Regions from separate parts of the Homo sapiens genome. Here region 1 is linked to region 2. Evidence: promoter capture Hi-C in 16 types of primary human blood cells and fetal thymus (Javierre and others, 2016). All regions are on one chromosome and are shown on one strand. Each heading gives the region's core, a stretch centred on a gene start or on the middle of the fragment in contact. The rest is flanking DNA. Distances are from core to core; before and after follow the strand shown. Region 1 overlaps VCF1 (VCP nuclear cofactor family member 1). Region 2 holds the start of WSB1 (WD repeat and SOCS box containing 1).

Region 1 (5,175 bases), core at 2,676-5,175, about 46 Mb after region 2:
ACACAGAAGGATTCTACTCTGCACTTGTTCACTGTCTCTGAATGACTGTTACCTACATGAAAGTTCCTGATTTTTCCCCCTTGGGGGAGTTACTTTGAATTGCTGGCAAAGACAGACTGGATATAGGTCAAATCCTATTATCAGGAACTAATTAAAGTACAAATTATTTGGGTGTGGGAGAATTCTACTGTGAGTTATGAGGCTAGGGCTCTTTGTTGTTGAGGCTTTTCTCTTAGTGTGACAACTGTTAAGGGTCAAAATCTCTAGGTGCATAACTTAATAGCAGCATTACTTTATATTGGTTTCCTTTCCCCAGCACAGAGCAGCCTTCCAATTGCACAGAAAATGTATCCTCAGTCTGCGTACTGAAGCACTCTTTCATGAAATCAAAAATTGTAAAAAAGTTCCAGAACACCCAACTCCCCTTCCCTCTCACCACAGGAGCTCTTTTCACAACAAGATAATGAAAAGTAAAAACACTGAGAAATGGGATTCTGCATACACATACCTTACATATTTTACATGCTTAAAGTTTCTCTTAAAAGGCATTTGAATTGAAGCAACAAAATATGTTTATCTTAAGGACAATTCATGGTTTATAAACTACCAGAAAAGAAGTTCGCTGCTGAAATACAAAACAGTGAGTTCAAACATAGGCTTTCAAAAAGCCACGAAATTTCTAACAAATACAAATGAGTGTGTACATATATGACTATGTGCACATATGTACTGTTTTGCTGGGGACAGGGTACACAGCTTCCTCAAAGGGACCCTGATTTGGAAACAGAAAGGTTAAACCAGTATAATCAACTAAGGTCATTTTAAATTACTGTTTAAGTAAATTTAATTACACAGCAGATACTAGGTTATTTAACTCAAGCAGTGAAAACAACAGACTATGTGACCACACTTCCTACCTCTGTGTCCCAGGAATCCTGAAAGACAGGGTTTCTGCTACTTCTTTTGGTCTGGGGGGGAAGATGGTTGTCTTCTTCGTTGCCATTCCTTCTCCTTTTCCTGAAATTAAATCACAAGGAGAAAAAAAAAAAAACCCAAACAACCGATGTTTTGGACACTTGAATTGCAAACCATAACAACATATAAATTTGCCCTCTGGCCTGAGAAAACATAATTCAGCATATGATATCCCAATAGGTTATCAGTTGGAAGTACAGCATCACTGGACACTAAGAGCAAAAATACAAGACAGCAGCAGCGAGGTCAAGCTTAAGTTAGTAAAACTCATTTCTAAAAAGAAGCTTAACAATTTTAAATGTCTGTTGGGACTGAAACAAGAACAGGAAGAGGTTAATGACTAAGCTTTCAACCTCTAACCTAATTAAGGTTTTCTTCTTTTTACACTCCCTGAAATTAGGATTCCGAGTTACCTAATTGTACTCCCTTCCATATGACAACATTTGATATAAGAGTGGCTGCCTTTGCCTATTTGCCCTGAAAACCCTTATAAAAGTACCTCTTGGTCACATTCACCTGCTTATTCTGGCAACACTAGCCGGTATTATGATATAACAATTACTTCACTAGATTGTTACTATGAGATGATAGCATAAGCTGCTTAAAATTTCCAGGTTTAAAGAAAAATCACACATCTTTCTTAGGCAAGTGTTCTCGGACATGCAAGAAAGACCAAATTTGCATGTACTCTATTTAAGAATTATGTGCTGTCAAAACGATTTCTGAACCTGTTAGAAAACAGAAATAAATTAAAGGAGGTATAATTTTCAGTCAAATTGCCCGGAACTGTACTGTCCAATACGGTAGCCACTAGCCACATATGGTTATTTACATTTAAATTAACTAAAATTAACCATCCAGTTCCTAGGTCACAGCTGCCCTGTTTCTAGTGCTCAGTGGCCACGTGTAGCTAGTGGCTACTGCACTGACCAGCACAGATAAAGGACATTTCCGTCACTGCAGAACGTTCTCCGGAGCAGCACAGGCTAGAGGTCTGTATGTACATGGCAGCAGCACCTATTACAAAACCCTTGAAGTTTCAGCTTTCTATAGTTAAGAGACAAAAGGCTAGTGTGGACACACAGCTCTTGGAAAGCATGTACATTTGGAGGATATAGTGTCTTCTAAATAATTATACACTTTCTATGAGAGTAGGGTGGCTTACAGTGGCAGGCCTTTAATCCTAAAGGTTTTGAGTTGAGGTTTGAATATTAGAGAAAATAAATGATCACCCTAAGCTCACTTCTCTGTACTCTGCAACATTCTGAATAGGTCTAACTTTAATAATGAGTATGGATCCCAGCTTAAGTTTGGAATAATAAAGAGTGTGTGGTTCTGATAAAGCTTCAACCATCCTGCACTGGGCTATGTAATTTACTTCATTCTAAGACATTTCTGCTCCCCACCTTTCTCTTAGGAGATCAGATCTTAGCTGCACATTACTTTGAAGTAGTTGGAGGTTAAAAAAAAATAGATGAATATCAGGTTTTAATAATCATTAAATGGGTGTGCTTTTATCATAAATTTGAACCAAGAAACTGCTAATTTCATCCTAATATGATCAGGGAATTTGAGTGGGAGTGTTCTGCAGAGGCAAAGCAATGTCTGCTGGGAGGCCAGTCGACACCCAAAGAGAAAGTCATTGAGTAAGTAGCAGCTGCTGGTCCTCACACACCCATTTTATCAGCGTGCCAACAGCTGACTGGGCTTTGGGCTGCTGAGTCACTCTAACCAAACTTAGGAGCCTGATCAAAATTTGCTATCTCCTCATTTATAATGGGGGATAGATCTTTCCAGGGACAAGACTATGAATGTCAAGGAGGTTGCATGGCAGAGGGACTGTAAGAACAAAAAAAGATGAGATGATTTTGTGGATTTCAACTAATCTCTGGGAGAGTCACATGAAATATCCCTGCCTCATAAATTACTTGATCTCTCAAGGCACCAGAATAATCTCTTTGGCCTGTTGGTAGCCTTCTCCTCTGGATGGTACCAGATTAAGAAAGAGTCCTACCTGCTCTTCATTTGCCTTTTTCTAGGCTCTTAGCAGATCTCATCCTTGAAACATTCTTCTTTCAACAATGGTGTTAACAACTGGCAAGATTACAGCTTCATGCTCATCCCTATCAGTTCAATCAATCAGATTACAATTTTTGGCATTAATGCCACAGACCAGGTTATGATTTTAGCAGGCACCCCTATAACTGATTATATTCTTCCCTAACCATCTAGGTGCAGATTACCAGTTAGCATCTGTTACTTCTACAGATGGTTGATTCCATCACGTTGCATTATTTCATTTCTCTCCAACCTTCCTGTCATCTCCTAGAGACTCGGCATAGAAATAATCTTAAGAGTATGGGCTGGGCACGGTGACTCACACCTGTAATCCCAGCACTTTGGGAGGCTGAGGCAGGCAGATCACTTGAGGTCAGGAGTTCGAAACCAGCCTGGCCCACATGGTGAAACCCTGTCTCTACTAAAAATACAAAAGAGTTAGCAGGGCGTGGTGGCGTGTGCCTGTAATCCCAGCTACTTGGGAGGCTGAGGCAGGGGAACTGCTTGAACCCAGGAGGTAGAGGTTGCAGTGTGCCGAGATCGCACCACTGCACTCCAGCCTGGCCGACACAGTGAGACTCCATCTCAAAAAAAAAAAAAAAAAAAAAAAAAAAGAGTATGGAAACTAGTGGTTTTCAAACTTTATTTTAAAAAGTAACAGAACTCTTTCTTTCTTACTGTAAAAAAATTCTCTCTATATAAGAGATAAAGGATCTGTTAAAGTAGGGACTCCCAGTCTGGTGAGGTGGCTCACATCTGTAATCCCAGCACTTTGGGATGCCGAGGCGGGTGGATCCCTTGAGCCCAGGAGTTCAAGACCAGCCTGGGCAATATAGTGAAACCCCACCTCTACCAAAAATACACAGATTAGCTGGGTGTGGTAGCTCACACCTGTGCTCCAGCTACTCAGGAGGCTGACGTGGGAGGATCACCTGAGCCTGGGAGGTTGAGGCTGCAGTGAGGCATGATGGGGCCACTGCACTCCAGCCTGGTCGACAGAGTGAGACTCTGTCAATCAATCAGTCAATCAATCAACCAATCAATCAATCAATAAGCAGGGACTCCCTCACTACACACTCACCTCTCTGCGGCTATCCAATCTACTGTGGGAGAGCCTGAAAACCCTTTTTTTTTTTTAGATGGAAGTTTCGCTCTTGTTGCTCAGGCTTGAGTGCAGTGATCTCCGCTCACTGCAACCTCCGCCTTCCAGGTTCAAGCGATTCTCCTGCCTTAGCCTCCCAAGTAGCTGGGATGAAGGTGCCCACCACCAGGCCCAACTAATTTTTTTGTATTTTTAGTAGAGACAGAGTTTCACCATGTTGGCCAGAGTGATCTCCAACTCCTGACCTCAGGTGATCCGCCCGCCTTGACTTCCCAAAGTGCTGGGATTACAGGCGTGAGCCACCGCACCCAGCCGAAAAACCACCGTCTTAGACCATCCTAGAGCTGGCAGAGCTGGCCCATCATACTCCATTAAACACTGGCAGGAAAAGCCTGTCCAAATCAAATAACTTCTTTAAAACATGTTGAGATTATTTGTGTACAAGATAAAAGGAATCTACTGCCAGTATAAATGCATTCAGATTAGTTATGTACAGTAGAATTTTTATTTGTAGGAAATATTTAGATTTTTTTTCAGATATGTGAGACACCCCAAGAGAATATCGTAAGTATAAACTGGGTTTGGGAAAGAATAATATGGCAGTCGGGTCAGATTCACTGTATCTAAAGATCTTGCTCCTAATTCCGATGGCATGTCTGTAATTGGGCCCCCAATTTCAAATTTAGTCCACTCTTCTTTTCTATACAAGGAGAGGCTTTATGCTCCACCTGCTACATGACCCAAATCAATAATCCAATGCAGCAGCTTGGGGAACCCTAGGTTTTCACTATGGGACCAAATAAACTCAGAATACTTTTGAGAACTTCAATCACATGAAATAATTATTTCAGAGAAGGATCCTTGTGGAAAGACCGTAACAGGAAGAGCATTCTGAGGTAACCTTTCCCAACTTTCTCCTCCACACATTCTTGCAGAGGAAATTAAGAGAGAGAAAAAAATTAAGAAATCCCAACTTAGTCCGGACTCTAGTAGTACATGTCAAGCACAGAACCCCTAATTTAAGACCCGCGTCCCGAGGC
Region 2 (4,996 bases), core at 831-3,330:
TGTTGGTACATGAGCTACAAGACTGCATTAAAGTTTTTCTTTTGTTCTACTCTAAAAATTCAGCAACTAGGCCCAGTGCCTGATACAGAGTGAGTCCTCAAGATATCGTTGACTGAAGCTAACAAAGTGATTTATTGATTTATTTATTTATTGAGACAGAGTTTCACTCTTGTCACCCAGGCTAGAGTGCAGTGGTGCAACCTCAGCTCACTGCAACCTCTGCCTCCCGGTTTCAAGCAATTCTCCTGCCTTAGCCTCCAGAGTAGCTGGGACTTCGCCACTACGCCTGGCTAATTTTTTGTATTTTTAGTAGAGATGGGGGTTTCACCATGTTGGCCAGGCTGGTCTCGAACTCCTGACACCCGCCTCAGCCTCCCAAAGCGCTGAGATTACAGGCGTGAGCCACCGCCCCCAGCCTAACAAAGTGATTTTTTTTTAAAGACGAGGGGCAGGCAGGGCGCAGTAGCTTAACGCCTCTAATCCTAGCACTTTGAGAGGCCGAGGTGGGCAGATCACAAGGTCAGGAGTTCAAGACCAGCCTGGCCAATATCGTGAAACCCCCTCCCTACTAAAAGGATGAAAAAAATTAGCTGGGCGTGGTGGCAGCCACCTGTAGTCCCAGCTACTCGGGAGGCTGAGGCAGGAGAATCGCCTGAACCCGGGAGGCAGAGGTTGCAGTGAGCCGAGTTGGCGCCACTGCACTCTGCTCTGGGAGACAGAGCAAGACTCCGTCTCAAAAAAAAAAATAAATAAATAACCAAAAAAAAAAAAAAGGAGGGGCGATGTTTTATTAAACATTTCGCTATTTGAAGAATTAATACACTCATGCAAAGAAAAGATGAAGTAAACATGCCCTACAGTGTTATCATTTGAGATCTCTTAAAAGCGGCTATGCAGCCGGGCGTGGTGGCTCACGTTGTAATCCCAGCACTTTGGGAGGCTGAGGCGGGCGGATCACTCGAGGCCAGGAGTTCGAGACTAGCCTGGCCAACAGGGTGAAACGCCCTCTGTACTAAAAATACAAAAATTACCCGGGCTTGGTGTCACATGCCTGTACAAATCCCAGCTACTGGGGAGGCTGAGGCAGGAGAATTGCCTGAACCCGGGAAACGGAGGTTGCAGTGAGCCAAGATCACGCCATTGCACCCCAGCCTGGGAGAAGCGAGACTCCGTCTCAAAAAAAAAAAAAAAAAAAAAAAAAAAAGCGGCTATGCAACACTCTACTCTGTCCCATGAATATCTGCCACATATTTGAATTCCCAGTCTTATACGCCCCAGGCCTTTGCAATGTTTAGGGTCCACACGAGAAGCCATTAAAATGCAAATACGTCATCTGTGACCGGGAACCAAGCTGGCATCTAGCAGATACTGACACATTTATCAGTCTGATGTGTGGACAACTAGGTGCCTCCCAGAGGCCTTCAGGTAAGGTGGAGGAAGGGCCAATTCTGAGCTGACACAGTGGGATCCATCTTGGCCAGGACAGTGGGATCCATCTTGGCCAGGACAAAGGCAGTCCAGAGAGGCCCCGCGGCGCGGTGCGGCGCGATCACGCCCGAGTCTCCTTCTCGTTCCCCTCGGCCCTTCCTAAAACCTGCTGGCTCAGGTCTGAACAATCGCAGCTGGACAGGTGGTGCACAACGATGTTAATTTTCATCCTGTCTTTTTCATCAGTGCATCCTTCAGTTCCCTATTACTTGTGGGCTGGGGAGTTGGCCAAATTGAGTGAAAACCTGAAATGTCTTTTTGTTCTTTTGGTTCAGCCAGTTTAAGTTCCATGCAATCTTTAAGCTAGGAGGCTAATAATAATACAATTCTCTGCTTGCCCTTTTCAAAGCCACTTCAGCTTATAAACTCCATATTAGACCATCCAGGCCCAGAAGACGCCACCGGCCTACAGGCAGAGTCAGCGGAACCAGCCTGGGCTGGATCTCCCCCTGCGAGGCCCCCAGGCAACGCCCGCGCCGGGCCGGGGAGATCACGTCCCGTGCGTCGGGAGGCGGGGGCCTCGGGCTGTGACGTCACGTGGCCGCGCCCCTGCCGCCCAGATATCTCCGGCGCCGCCCGCCATTTTGACTCCAGTGTCTCGTTTGCAGTCGGCGCTTTAGGGGAACTGTCTTCCTCCGCAGGCGCGAGGCTGGGTACAGGGTCTATTGTCTGTGGTTGACTCCGTACTTTGGTCTGAGGCCTTCGGGAGCTTTCCCGAGGCAGTTAGCAGAAGCCGCAGCGGCCGCCCCCGCCCGTCTCCTCTGTCCCTGGGCCCGGGAGGGACCAACTTGGCGTCACGCCCCTCAGCGGTCGCCACTCTCTTCTCTGTTGTTGGGTCCGCATCGTATTCCCGGAATCAGACGGTGCCCCATAGATGGCCAGCTTTCCCCCGAGGGTCAACGAGAAAGAGATCGGTGAGGATTGGGACCGTGGGTGGGCGCATGAGGGCCGAGGAGAGGCAGGGACTCCCCGGAGGAGGTTTGGGAGGAAGCGACTCCAAGTCTGAGGGAAGAGCTCCAGTGCGCCAGGGCCAGCCCACTAGCGAGGAGGAGGAAGCCGCCTCGGTGGGAGTTGGCTGAGGGGTAAACGGCACCGACGTGGATGCAGCACCTACTGTGCTCCCTCGCGGTTGCTGTGTGGCTGGGGCGGGCAAGGACCCCGGTTTCTTCGTCGGAGGTCCGCGCAGGGCTCTTGTCCTGGGAGTTCTTGGCTCAGGGCATGACTGTCGAGTGGACAGGGAAGGGCCACTCAGGGACTTTAGGTTTACAATGGGGAAAAGTAAACTTGTGGGTTGTAAGCGGTAATGAAAGGAGGGGGTCCTCGTGTGTACCAACCACTCTTAGATAGAAATGAGATGGAAGAGGTCCCAACAGCCTGGCAAAAGCAATACAGTATTTTTAAAATGGTGTGGCCTTAAGAAACGCAGCGGTTCGGGGGAGGAGACTTTTAGAATTATCTTTCAAACACTTAAGGGAGGAGCTGGGTGGTTGGGTGGAGTGACAGAAGGAAAGCTTTTGTGCGGAAGAGGAAACTCTGGAAAAGGCTTTTCTGGCTTAGTGTCTAGCCCTGGTCGGCTTAGTAAAGGGCAATTAGTGTTGAAGGTTGTGCGTCCACACCTACTTAGTGGCTCAGTGGAAAGCACGTCGCATTATTTAAATCCTCTTTTAAAGTAAAATAACTGGAACAACGTTTGACGGTGTTGGGGGGTGCTGTACATTGGCTGATAACACTTAGCAAACACTGATCTTACTGTGTGAAGTAATAATTAGCTGCGGCCGCTGAGCAGAGAGCATTTACATTTTCCTACTCTTGAAGTGAATGTGTGCCTTTACTAAGTACAAGGAGGAGTTATTTCTAGAGAAGGGAAGAGGCTGAAGTAGCCAAAACGCGCACTATTTTGTATGTGGGTGAATTTTTATATCTAGAAACAGCTGTTTTAGAATTCTGGACTTTTGTTGTCTTAGGGATGATTGATTAGGAAGGGACTTTAACCCTGGTTTTAATAACCATTTTTAAAGATACAAACACAGAAAAAAAAGGGAAAAAATTGTAGCAGAGTTCACACAGAAAAAAGAAAAAAAAAGATGCAAAGAACACAGAATTTGTGTCCAGTTATTATTTTAACTGTATTTTAAGACTAGAAAGTATGTCGCGAAGTGGGACAAAGAACTCAAAAGTTCTTATCAGTCCAGTGGGTTTTTCTTTTACTTTAGTACACCATAATGTTATAGACGAGTGATCTGCCTTTTTTTTAAATCTGTATTTTACTTCATCCTGATAAACCATTTTGAAAACTTTGCGGTCCTGTTTTCTCTCTCTCTTTTTTTTTTTTGAGATGGAGTTTTTGCTCTTGTTGCCCAGGCTGGAGTGCAATGGCACGATCTCGGCTCACTGCAACCTCCGGCTCCCGGTTTCAAGCGATTCTCCTCCCTCAGCCTCCTGAGTAGGTGGGATTACAGGCATGCACACGCCCGGCTAATTTTTGTGTTTTTAGTAGAGATGGGGTTTCTCCATGTTGGTCAGGCTGGTCTCGAACTCCCGACCTCAGGTGATCGCCCACCTCTGCCTCCCAAAGTGCTAGGATTACGGGCGTGAGCCACCCCGCCCAGATTTCCGGTTTTGTTTTCTAAGAGATGGATAGAGATGGATAGCATACCTACATAAAGTAGAACCATCCACTAAGTGTTCCCCCACTAGCCCCCTGATTTCTCTTTTCTTTTCTTTCTTTTTTTTTTTCATATTTAGGTCTCAGTGTTATTTCCTGGATACGTTATAAAAACTTACTAGCTAAGTGCCAGATATCTAGAAGAACTTTTGCTTTTTCTGAGCTTTTTTTAACCCCAGTTTTTTTCTTTGTTTCTTTTTTTGAATTATCATTTGGATACAAGGTTGAACATTTCTCTGCGTAGCTTTTTAAATCTATGAATAAGGATTTACTTTTTTTCTTTTCTTGGGTGTTAATTAAAAGCCAAGCCAAGTTTAGTTTCTCAAGGACATACGGAGAGTAGAGGCAAGATTTCCATGAATGATTAAATAATTCTGTGATACTACTGCCTTGAGCTACTGCCCTTTTTCACAAGGCACTGCCACAGATCATCCCTTTCTGGTTATGAAATTTTGGGGAGGAATGTAAAGAAGGAGCTAAATCTGGTTTGCTTGGTTCAGCAGTGACTCAGATGGTATGTTACTGTTTTACAGATATTAATAATGTAGTGTTGTATCTTACGGCTGATTTCCCATGGCAGCCTTTCCCTTAATAAGGTCATTAAATCATACATTTCTGTTGCTAACATTAAACAGTTACAGATAATGTAATAAAGGTTTAACTTAAAAATTTTTTTTCAAAGCACTTTATTACAAACTTTGTGCTAGGTTTATAAAATTGTACCAGTATTTAATCTGAGCACTTAAATCATTTTATTAAAGTGCCAAAGGCAATTTGATATACCTGTTATCCAGCAAAGAAACACAAGGCAATTATTAGTAAATTTTAACAGATTAATGCATT

The links. The method cuts DNA at HindIII sites, captures the fragments that hold promoters and counts their contacts. A CHiCAGO score of 5 or more calls a contact.
Region 1: a fragment that was not itself captured here is called in contact with the fragment with the promoter of WSB1 in region 2 in 1 of 17 cell types (fetal thymus); the score reaches 5.0 in fetal thymus.

Annotation. Positions count from the first base shown.
Region 1 is chr17:73,226,248-73,231,422 of GRCh38, forward strand. It overlaps VCF1 (VCP nuclear cofactor family member 1), which reads right to left. Exons shown (of 4, transcript NM_001098832.2): 2 at 918-1,017. Among named protein-coding and RNA genes, the nearest start is that of VCF1, 3.6 kb to the right of the region's middle. RefSeq lists enhancers at 2,733-2,782, 4,864-5,175. The HindIII fragment of the contact is 3,216 bases long and covers 2,318-5,175 here.
Region 2 is chr17:27,292,034-27,297,029 of GRCh38, forward strand. It overlaps WSB1 (WD repeat and SOCS box containing 1), which reads left to right and starts at 2,081. Exons shown (of 9, transcript NM_015626.10): 1 at 2,081-2,402. The coding sequence starts at 2,363. MIR4522 (microRNA 4522) reads right to left here and starts at 1,963; the gene lies at 1,877-1,963. RefSeq lists enhancers at 1,810-1,859, 2,230-2,289, 2,300-2,359 and a silencer at 1,900-2,109. The HindIII fragment of the contact is 5,795 bases long and covers 1-2,997 here.